2 separate regions of the Homo sapiens genome follow, and region 1 is linked to region 2. Evidence: promoter capture Hi-C in 16 types of primary human blood cells and fetal thymus (Javierre and others, 2016). All regions are on one chromosome and are shown on one strand. Each heading gives the region's core, a stretch centred on a gene start or on the middle of the fragment in contact. The rest is flanking DNA. Distances are from core to core; before and after follow the strand shown. Region 1 has its middle 3.8 kb from the start of TRI-AAT5-2. Region 2 holds the start of H3C4 (H3 clustered histone 4).

Region 1 (5,142 bases), core at 742-3,241, 980 kb before region 2:
TTAAGACGGCCTATTGGGGGCGTTTCAGTGTAGTCAACTTGGATGCTTTGGAACGGCCTCAACCCTGGGTTTCTTCCCCCGGGAGGTTGCCTCTTTAGGGTTTGCTTATTAGTTTTTCTGCACCATCCGCCACTTGCCTAGTGAAGGTATATATCCCTACACACCCATAGACTCTAAGGACTGCATCGCACATAGCTTGAGGACCCCAGTGAGTTCCTTGGTGAAGCTGTGACAATATTTCCCTCATGAGGGGTTTAGACAGCATTTCCCTTCCATCTGTCCACACCCACTTCCCCTCTGGGCTTTCCTTAGCTCCTATTTTCTTGAGTTTCTCTTGGTCTGTGTGGGAGAAGATGGAGATCACAGCTGGAGGGGGAAGACAAGGGGTTAGATGGAAAATGGGTGCCTCTTGGGAATAGGCAGCTTGCTAGCTTGCTTAGCTACTTAATCTGTGAGGTTATTTCCCGGCTTTCAAAAGATGGGTTATTTTGGTGTCCTGGGACATGGACAACTGCAATCTCTTCCGGCAGCTGAAGATTTTCTAGCACTTGCATAATTAATTCCTTGTGGGCCAAATCTTGGCCCTTACTATTGATGAGGCCTCGTTCAGTCCAGATCTTTTCCGAAGGCATACTTGGAGTAAGTGTAAATAGTTCCTTCCTGATTCTGCAGGGATTTTAAGGCTTGGTTTAATGCAAAGAGTTCACATATTTGGGCAGACCACTTATTTGGCAGTCTTTCTGACTCTACCACTGTGAGGGTTTCCCTATCAACTATGGAGTACCCGTTGTGCCTTTTTCCTTCAATGACCTGGGAGGAGCCGTCTATAAAGAGGTGATGCCCTGTTTGGAAGGGGGTTTCATGCCTGGATGCGGTCTGACTCTAGTTTGAAAACTGATTAGATCTAAGCAGTTATGCTCACATTCCTCCTGGTTTGGATTTCCTGTTAGGAAAGCAGCGGGGTTGAGTGAATTGTCAGTGGTTAGTGTTAGGTTATCTCCCTCTAATAAGATAGCTTCATATTTTAAAATCCTTGAGTCAGTGAGCCATCTCCCTGCCTTCTGATTAAGAATGGTTCTGACTTGATGAGGGGCACTTACGAAGAGGTTTCCCCCAAAGGTTATTTTCCTGCTTTCTTCTGTTAGCAAGGCAGTTGCTGCTATGGATTGAACACATTCGGGCCATCCACGGGTTACTGGGTCAAGGATTTTTGACAGAAAGACTACAGGCTGCCGGTGGCCTCCATGTTTTTGGGTGAGTACCCCTAAGGCCACTCCTTTGCTTACATTAATGAAAAGATGGAATGGCTGTTCTAAGGAGGGCAAAGTTAGAACAGGGGCAGTTACAAGTAGGTGTTTTAATTCTTTTACCGTTGGATCTCTGATGGGGTCCAAAGGAGGGGGTCTGGTCCTTCTTGAGTGAGTTTTTGATATAGGGGCTTTGTTTTTAAGGCATAAGAGTCAGTCCACAGATGACAATATCCAACCAATCCTAATAATTTCCTAAGTTCCTGCTTTGTTTCAGGTAAAGGCAAAGACAGGATACCTTCAATTCGTTCGGATCCTATCTTTCGTTCACCTTTACTGATTAGGTGTCCTAGATATTTTACCTCAGATTCTATGAATTGGATGTTGTTCTTTGAGACCCGTAATCCTTGTCCCCTTAGGAAATTTAGGAAGTTAACTGAAATTGCTGTTACTTGATCCTTGTTATCTCCTGAAATGAGCAGGACATCTACGTATTTGAGTAGGCATATGGATGAAGGCAGGGAGAAGTTTTCTAGGACTTGCTCTAAAATATGACCAAATAGATTTGGGGACTCTGTAAACCTTGGGGCAAGACTGTCCATCGACCGGAGTGAGGGTCCTCTCACTCAAAGGCAAATTTGTCCCAGCTGTCCTCTGCTAAAGGGCAAGCCCAAAAGGCATCATTTAAATCTGTCACCGTGAACCATTGGTGGTTATGCGGGATTCTACTGAAAATGGTGTAAGGATTGGGAACAACAGGGTGGATGGTCTGAACTATTTGGTAAATAGCCCAGAGGTCTTGCACTAGCTGGTATGACCCGTCTGACTTCCTTACAGGCAATATTGGAGTGTTATAAGGGGACATACAGGGTTCAAGTCTTTCAATTACAGGTTTTAAAACTATCCTGGTTTTAAACCTATCCTGGCTTCCAAGGGAATAGGGTATTGTTTTCGTGGACAAGGCTTTCAATTATAGGTTATAAACCTATCCTGGCTTCCAAGGGAATAGGGTATTGTTTTTGTTTCACTATTTCCCCAGGAGTTTTTAATTTGACATGGATTGGAGGAACCCATCCTCGATTCCCTTCTTTCGACCATACGTTGGGATGGATGCGGCTTTCTTCTGAAGTGGTGAGTACGTTTAAGGAAGTAAGGAGTTTTCCTTGATTAACATATAGGCCTGTGCCTAACCTTAACATTAAGTCCCTTCCTAATAAATTAGTTCCTGCTTCAGGAATTAAGAAGAACTTAGTAGCAACCGACTTATTCTTATATTTGACTTCGGTTTCCTCTAGAATTTTTGCTCTGAATCCTTCCCCTTTAACTCCTGAGACAGTAAGGTCTTCGGCTGAACAGGATAAATCTGATGGGAGAAAACATAGGCAGGAGCCAGCTGCTCCCGAATTGACCAGGAAAGTGACTATTTCCAATTTGGGTCCCACCGTTAAATTTATCAAGGGCTCTTGGTGGGACTCAAGATGGAAGACGTAGAGCCCCTGAGCCCACTGTTCTTCAAATGTCATGAGTGAAAGGACTTTCTTTTCCCTCTCCCATTCGGGACATTTCCTCTTAAAATGTCCTGGCTTTCCACATCTGAAACATCTGTTTTTCCTTCTCCCCCTCCTGGTTCCCTGATTCTCAGGTTTCGTCCCTTTGCTTCCTGTATAGGGTCTGGCAGCCTGGTACTCAGAAGGTTTACAAGTTCTATTTCCCTGGGATGCCTGTTGAAAAGTTCCCTGTTGTAGGGTGGACAGCATAATTTTTGCCTTTTGCTTCTGCCTTTCCTCATCCCTCCGTACATATACCTTTTGGACCTCTCTTTAAAGTTCCTCTATGGGACAGTCTTTCTAATTTTCTATCTTTTATAATTTCTTTATAGTGTCTGGCCAACTATTGGTGACAAAGTGGAGCTTTAACATCCTTTGTCCTAGTGGGTCCTCTATGTCCAAACCTGCGTATTTTCTTATCTGTTCCTTAAGTCTGTTTAAGAATTCCATGGGCCCTTCATCTTTCTCTTGCTGTACATTAAATGCTTGGGAAATGTTTTGGGTTGGAGGAACTGATTCCTGAATCCCTTTAATTATCATATCCCTATCTCTCATGTTTTCCCGGTGAGCCGCACTGTTGTTATCCCATTGAGGGTCCTGGGCCGGGAATTTATGCTCTGCTGCAAGGACATTCTGACGAGGGGGGTGCTTGCGCTCCCAGGCTATCATAGCAGCCTTGCAGATCATGGTTCTTTCCTCTCCTAAGAAGAGAATACCTAGAATAGACATCAATTCAGCCCAGGTATACAGTTGTGGCCCCATAAATTGGTCAATTTGATCTGAGACTCCAAAAGGGTCATCTAACAGTGGTTTGAGTCTCCTTTTTAGATTTCTAACTTCTTCACTAGCTAAGGGGGGCATTTACGAAGCCAATATCCCCTCCTCCTAGTGGTACTTCCCTCAAGGGAAAAAAGGTTGGGGCAGACTTCTTTGAAGAGAGGAAAGGAAAGTTTTGAATATCCCTTTGGCATTGTTCTATTTGCCACTGGAGCTTTCCTAAGGGAGGGGCATGTTCGAGTGGCTGTCCAACGGGGGTGTGTGGTGTCAAGGCCCATGGGGCAGGGTTATATGGGGGAGGGACGGAGTTTTAGCTTGGGGCAGAGGGGTAGGTGCGGGAAGGGCTGTTGTTCAGTCGGGGCGGAGAGGTAGGCAGGGGAAGGTGGTCTAGAGGATCCCGTGCATCTTTGGATATAGAATATGACTTAGCTAGGTCGTCTTTGGGGGGTTTTGAGTTTGGCTTTGCTTTTTCGTCCTTTAAGGGATAGAGAAGGACAGGTCCTTGTCTCCAACATAGAGCATAATCTATCTCCTCTTGAGAAACTGGGCTTTTATCATTGACATACTGGATCAGGAGTTGGCATATCCAGTCCTCGTCCCACCCAAACTTTGGCCAAAAGACCGAAGGTCTGAGGATGGGTTCCTTAGTCCAAATAAAACAGCAGTACTTTATCATTTGCTGTCTTTTCTTGTGTTTGGTCCTTTCATTATCCTTCCAGTATTTTAACATTAGGCCTAGGGGACTGTGAGGGAAATTTTATTGTCTGCTTGGCCTTTTAGAGTCTCTGTCTTACTTGGGGTTATTTCCCATCCTGGAGGTTGGTGAGGCTTAATATATAATATTAGAGATCTCTTGCACTCCCGTGTCTTAGAGGCTCAACCTCCCCTTTTTCCACTGGAGGTTTCTTGCACTCTCGTGAGCACTCACTTCGTCCTTATTGGCTGCTTCCCTTGCGGGAATTTTAGGCACCTCTTAGCATTGGCGGGTAGGTGGAATCCCCTGATTGGAAAACCGCCCTAAGCCGTATGAGGTGACCACGGAACCAAGTCCGGACTCCGCACTCGCCTTGCGCCCAGTGGTATGTCTCACTCACACACTTTAAAACTCCAGAGACCCCAACCACCAAGGAAGGCTTTGCCGCCCCAATAGCAACGTTTCTTACCTTGGTCTGTGCACAGAGTTACCTGTGGTCGCCATGGAATTCTTTTTTTTTTTTTTTTTGAGACGGAGTCTCGCTCTGTTGCCTAGGCTGGAGTGCAGTGGCATGATCTCGGCTTACTGCAACTTCTGCCTCCCGGGTTCAAGTGATTTTCCTGCCTCAGCCTCCCAAGTAGCTGGGACTAAGGGCGCGCACCACCACGCCCGGTTAATTTTTGTATTTTTAGTAGAAACGGAGTTTCACCGTATTGACCAAGCTGGTCTCACAGAATTCTTAAGGATCCTCCCTACTGTCCGCGTTGCTGAGAGTCCGGATTTATTCGTCACTTCGGGCGGGACTCGATCCTCCGCTCCTGGGGCCACCACGAGGCAATGGGACGCGTCTCCCCATGAAAGATAATCGCTAGCCCCT
Region 2 (5,156 bases), core at 69-2,568:
TCCCAGGACTTTGGAAGGCCAAGGTGGGCGGATCACAGGGTCAGGAGTTCCAGGACAGCCTGACCAACATGGTGTGAAGCCCCGTCTTTACTAAAAATAAAAAAATTTGTCGGGCGTGGTGGCGCGCGCCTGTAATTTCAGCTATTTAAGAGGTTGAGGCAGGAGAAAATGTTGAACCCCGGAGGCGGAGGTTGCAGTGAGTCGAGATCGCGCCACTGCACTCCAGTTTCGGCGACAGAGCGAGACTGTCTCAAAACAAACAAAAACCCAAAAAAGCAAACTAATTAAAATGCAAAGAGACTTTATGTCACATGTAATTTAAATCGATCAATGCAGCGGCTCGTTAGGATTGCAAAGCTGTTAAAAGGCCTGAGACATACAGGAGAGAAGTTAATGTTTGTCAGTGTTTACATTTACATAAAAATATAGTTAGTGACTTAAAGCAACAGAACCAGAACAAATGTTTTATTGTCTTTTGTATGCATCTTAATGATACGAAATAACCTGTAATTTGTAAGTATTTTTTGGGTTTGTTTTTGCAAGCCACTTTCAACTCTACTGAGCTAACCCTAATTAATTATCAATAGGAATACAAACCTACATCCCCTGGAGCCAGACGGCCCTTAGGTGGAGCTTCTTAGCACAGTGTTCAGCATGACTAAAAGGGCACACTGGTCTTTTTGTGCCATTTATAAATTTGGCTTTTTTTTTTTTTTTTTTTTACAGCAGATTACACAAATACCAGTTGAACTTGTAAAAGATAAGAGTGCTTTCATATGAGGATGACATATTGTGGTGAAATTAAATGTGTTCATGTAGCTTAACATCAGGTTTCATATTGTTACTTATGAGTTAATAGTCATGGTGCATTTGGAACAAATTATTGAAAATATCTCCAAGTTTAAATAGACAAATCAAGATATGAAATTAACCTTTCTAAACTTAAGAGGGTAAAAAGAAATCACTTGGCCAATCACAACTAGCGCGCGTCTTTTTAAAACGTTGATCAAAGCCAGTTTCAGCGCCAACATTTAAAAAAAAATTAAGACACGTCATCCTAGTAGCTAGACACAATTTTGCCAAGGAAAACCAAAGTACGTTTTAAATAAAAGCTAGAAACATGGCACAGAGGGGAAAGGGTTGAAAACACCAGCAGTTAAAGATGGACGGAGGAAAGTTTTAATATTTGGTCTACATGCAGGAGATGTTCTGTCAGGGAGTGGGCGTCTCCACCAATCGAGCTGCAGGGGAAAGGCTGCCTTGTCCAATCAGAACAGGGGTGTCTTTATATATACGGGTACGAAAGGCTAGACTTTCGTTTTTTCGTCATTTAGCAGGGTTTAGAAGTTCGCAATGGCTCGTACCAAGCAGACTGCTCGCAAGTCCACGGGTGGGAAAGCGCCACGCAAGCAGCTGGCCACCAAGGCTGCTCGAAAGAGCGCTCCAGCCACCGGCGGCGTGAAGAAGCCCCACCGTTACCGGCCCGGCACGGTGGCTCTGCGCGAGATCCGCCGCTACCAGAAGTCGACCGAGCTGCTGATTCGCAAACTGCCATTCCAGCGTCTAGTCCGTGAGATCGCGCAGGACTTCAAGACTGATCTGCGTTTTCAGAGCTCGGCGGTGATGGCGCTGCAGGAGGCCTGCGAGGCCTACCTGGTGGGGCTGTTTGAGGACACCAACCTATGCGCCATTCACGCCAAGCGAGTGACTATCATGCCCAAGGACATCCAGCTTGCTCGCCGCATTCGTGGGGAGAGGGCGTAAATTGTCTTGTGAATGTGTGCTAACCAAAACCCAAAGGCTCTTTTCAGAGCCAACCACCTTTTCTATAAAAGTTGCTGTTTACTGTTGCTGTCCGTAAACTGGAACCTCTGTTCACTCAAGGTAAGTAAGCATTCTTGCCTCTATCCGTTCCCCCTCCCCTCACGGAATTGGTGCAAAAAGCTTTATTATAATTGGGGAGTTCTTAAAACAGCCTTTAAGGTACTCTTATATCTCCTTGTTTTGGGGGCCGCTTTCTTAGGCTTGGATGCCTCCGGCTTGGGAACTTTCTTGGCCACCTTTGACCAACCAACCTTCTCCAGCAGCCTCCACCAGCAAAAGCTTTTGGGGTCCGCTTAGTACTCTTTTTCGGAATAAGGACGCCCCAAGCTTTCTTGGGCCTCTCGGCTGCCAGGACAGCTGTCTTGGGCATGACTGCAGCGGCTTTTCTGGCCTCGGTCTTGATTTTCCTAACACTGCCTGGTTTGGCGGGAATGAACCTGAGGCGCTGCACTCCTTAGCACGAAGATGCCCTCGTTTGTTTTCAAGGCCCAACTTTATTCAAATAATTTTTAAAAATTTGTATTTATTTTTAGGGACGAGGTCTCACTGTGTTACCCAGGCTGGCCTCAAAACTCCTTAGCTTGGCCAGGCGAGGTGGCTCAGGCCTGTAATCACAGCACTTTAGGATGCCAAGGCGGGCGGATCACGTGATGCCAAGAGTTCGAGACCAGCCTGCCCAACACATTGAAACTTCGTCTCTACTGAGAATACAAAAATTAGCCGGGTGTGGTGGCACACGCCTGCAGTCCCAGCTACATGGAAAGCTGAGGCAGGAGAAGGGCTTGAACCCGGGAGGCGGAAGTTGCAGTGAACCGAGATCACACCACTGCACTCCAGCCTGGGCAGCAGAGCTAGACTCCTTCAAAAAAAAAAAAAAAATCCCCAAGGACAAACAAAACCACCAAAAACAACTCCTTAGCTTAAGAGATTCTCCCGCCTTGGCCTCACAAAATGCTGAGATTACAAACGTAGGCCACCGCGACCGGCAAGGGCCGATCTTCATATCGTAGCCGCCAACACCTACTTGAGCGCGGCCACAGAGAAGGCCGCTGCGCTTCTTGGAGACGGCTAAGTCATTAGTGATGAACTCACATACCGGAGGGGCCTGGACATCTTGCACTTCACTGCAACTTCGGACTTGCAACCTTTTTCTTTACTTCAGTCTTTGACTTGGGAGATAGACCAGGAGTCACGGCATGTACAGTTTCGGACATGATTGTAGGTTTGGATATCTAACAGTTAAAAAAAAAAAAAGTCAGGCTGCGAGTGTGTCTGTGATTACGTGTGTGTCACACACAGACACGCTGCGCGCTGATTGGTTCCCAGCTCAGTCTTTCAGCTTGGCAGCAACCTAGTCTCAACCCTGTTTCTGAGTTGTGTTTGCGGAAATTCAGAAAATCAAAATAGTTTAAATTTCCTGAGGAGGAATCACACCAATTCTATTCTACAATGAACTGGAACGGCTACGGTGTTATGATCTTTACATTTTCTTTCTCTAGTTTTTACTTAAGGCAGCCTCGGCCTTTATCAAAAGTTCCAACTTTCAGAGATTCACAGTTCAGAGGGACAACTTCTTGATTTTCATTTAAAATATAAATTCTTCCATTCGTGTCTTCAATTGTTTGCTGTCTTCTAATAATAGCCTACACATTTTTGGCTTCTCATACATTGAACAACTACTTGATTTTCATTGAGATTTAACGAGGAAATCTGTTTTATATGAGAAGAGAAACAACAGGTTCTTTTTGAATTTCTCCACAAGAACAGCAGTACGGATACTTAGAACAACAGCCCTTTCTGATAAAATTAGCTGGGGCTGAAAATATTTCATGATAGCTTCTTGTAACTATTTGGACGTTTAGTTACTTTGGGAGGGTTCCAGTAAATGTTCAACGTTTCCTTGGGAAAATGGGAAATACAATGATCACTGATTCTCCTGATATTGGGACTGTTTGCATAGCTGAACTCAGGAGAGATCCACGAAAGGACATAAAAGAGACAGAGTTTGACTCATTTAAGGGTCAAAAAAAAATTTTTTTTTTAAATTTTTACTGGGGGAAATTTGTTATTAAAATATTCATGAGTCTTTGGGTTCAGGGGTCTGTCATGCTTGGTGACACGGGGAAAATAGACTTTGGTAAACTATTCAAGTACCAGGATCAAAGAATATACACACAAGCACCACACACACACAAAATTCCCTAGAGAGAGAAATTTAAAAAACAGCCATGTTTCATATTCAGTACTACATTTCTTGTTTAAACAAGGATATAGGCTTATAGTGATGAAGTACAGCTTATGTTCGATATGAGAAGAAAATGGAGTGATGGCAGAAAGTGAATTAACTGATTTTCTTCACTCCTCAATGTCTTGAACGTATGCTGATCTGGGGAGCATATACATTTCTGTTTTACTAAGACTATGAAGGAGATAAATGCTGGGAACAGACAGAGTAAAGCCCAAAAGGTGAGGGTTTCACACTTTTTGATCTCATCAAAATACAAATGACTTCATGTAGCAAATTAAACTAGGACATGAACAAATTAATAAATGTTAATAAAAATTAAAATCAAATGTTTGAGATGAGACATGAGCTAAATATGAATCACATTTACTTTGAGTGTGTATTCACTTTTTATGGAGCCCATGTATTTCTAATCTTAAAATGGCTTTGACCCATTTTATATTTATATTTTATACTTATATTTGATTTCCTGGAGCACCAACAAAGGAAGAACTGACTTGTAGCCTTCCAACTGCAGGAATTCTCTGAGGTACTGTCCTATTTGCCTTCATGGGTTTGTGAGTTAGTTTCTTACAGGTAACTAAAGTCTCTCCCTTCAGGCCTGTCCTCTTGCCTAAGTATCAAAGTTGGATTTCTGGATGGTTGCTGGATATCTGCTTGTTCATCTTCTATACCAGACTCTCAGTATGACCATCCTTATCTAAGTAGCTTCTGTCTAAGATTGCTGGATATTGGCTTCATTGTTTACGTATATCACACCCTCAACATATCCAACCACATCTAGGAAGCAACCTTTCAAGTGACATTCCTATATATTCTGTTCACAACAACACTATTGCTTTGTTAACTGACACTTCAATTATTCCCTTTCCTTTGTTGCCAAATCCAATCTGTTACTAAGTTTGGTGAATTCTTCCTAAATTCATCTTTCCTTGTTTATTTGCCTTTTCATGGTTGTAATTCTTGCTCTTCTATCTCTTCTTTGGACTGGCTATTTTTATAGCCTTCTTATGGGTGGCTCCTTTCTCTCATCCCTTTGTGCTGTCATTCATTCTCTTCATTGCTCTGGGTGAAATATTCTTCATAT

The links. The method cuts DNA at HindIII sites, captures the fragments that hold promoters and counts their contacts. A CHiCAGO score of 5 or more calls a contact.
Region 1: a fragment that was not itself captured here is called in contact with the fragment with the promoter of H3C4 in region 2 in 2 of 17 cell types (naive B cells and total CD8 T cells); the score reaches 7.0 in naive B cells.

The regions. Positions count from the first base shown.
Region 1 is chr6:27,178,504-27,183,645 of GRCh38, reverse strand. No RefSeq gene overlaps it. Among named protein-coding and RNA genes, the nearest start is that of TRI-AAT5-2, 3.8 kb to the right of the region's middle. The HindIII fragment of the contact is 7,682 bases long and covers 1-5,142 here.
Region 2 is chr6:26,193,448-26,198,603 of GRCh38, reverse strand. It overlaps H3C4 (H3 clustered histone 4), which reads left to right and starts at 1,318. Exons shown (of 1, transcript NM_001376937.1): 1 at 1,318-1,820. The coding sequence starts at 1,354. The coding sequence ends at 1,764. It also overlaps the pseudogene H1-12P. RefSeq lists enhancers at 97-156, 187-246, 989-1,589, 1,968-2,077, 1,590-2,191 and 1 more. The HindIII fragment of the contact is 2,796 bases long and covers 1-1,946 here.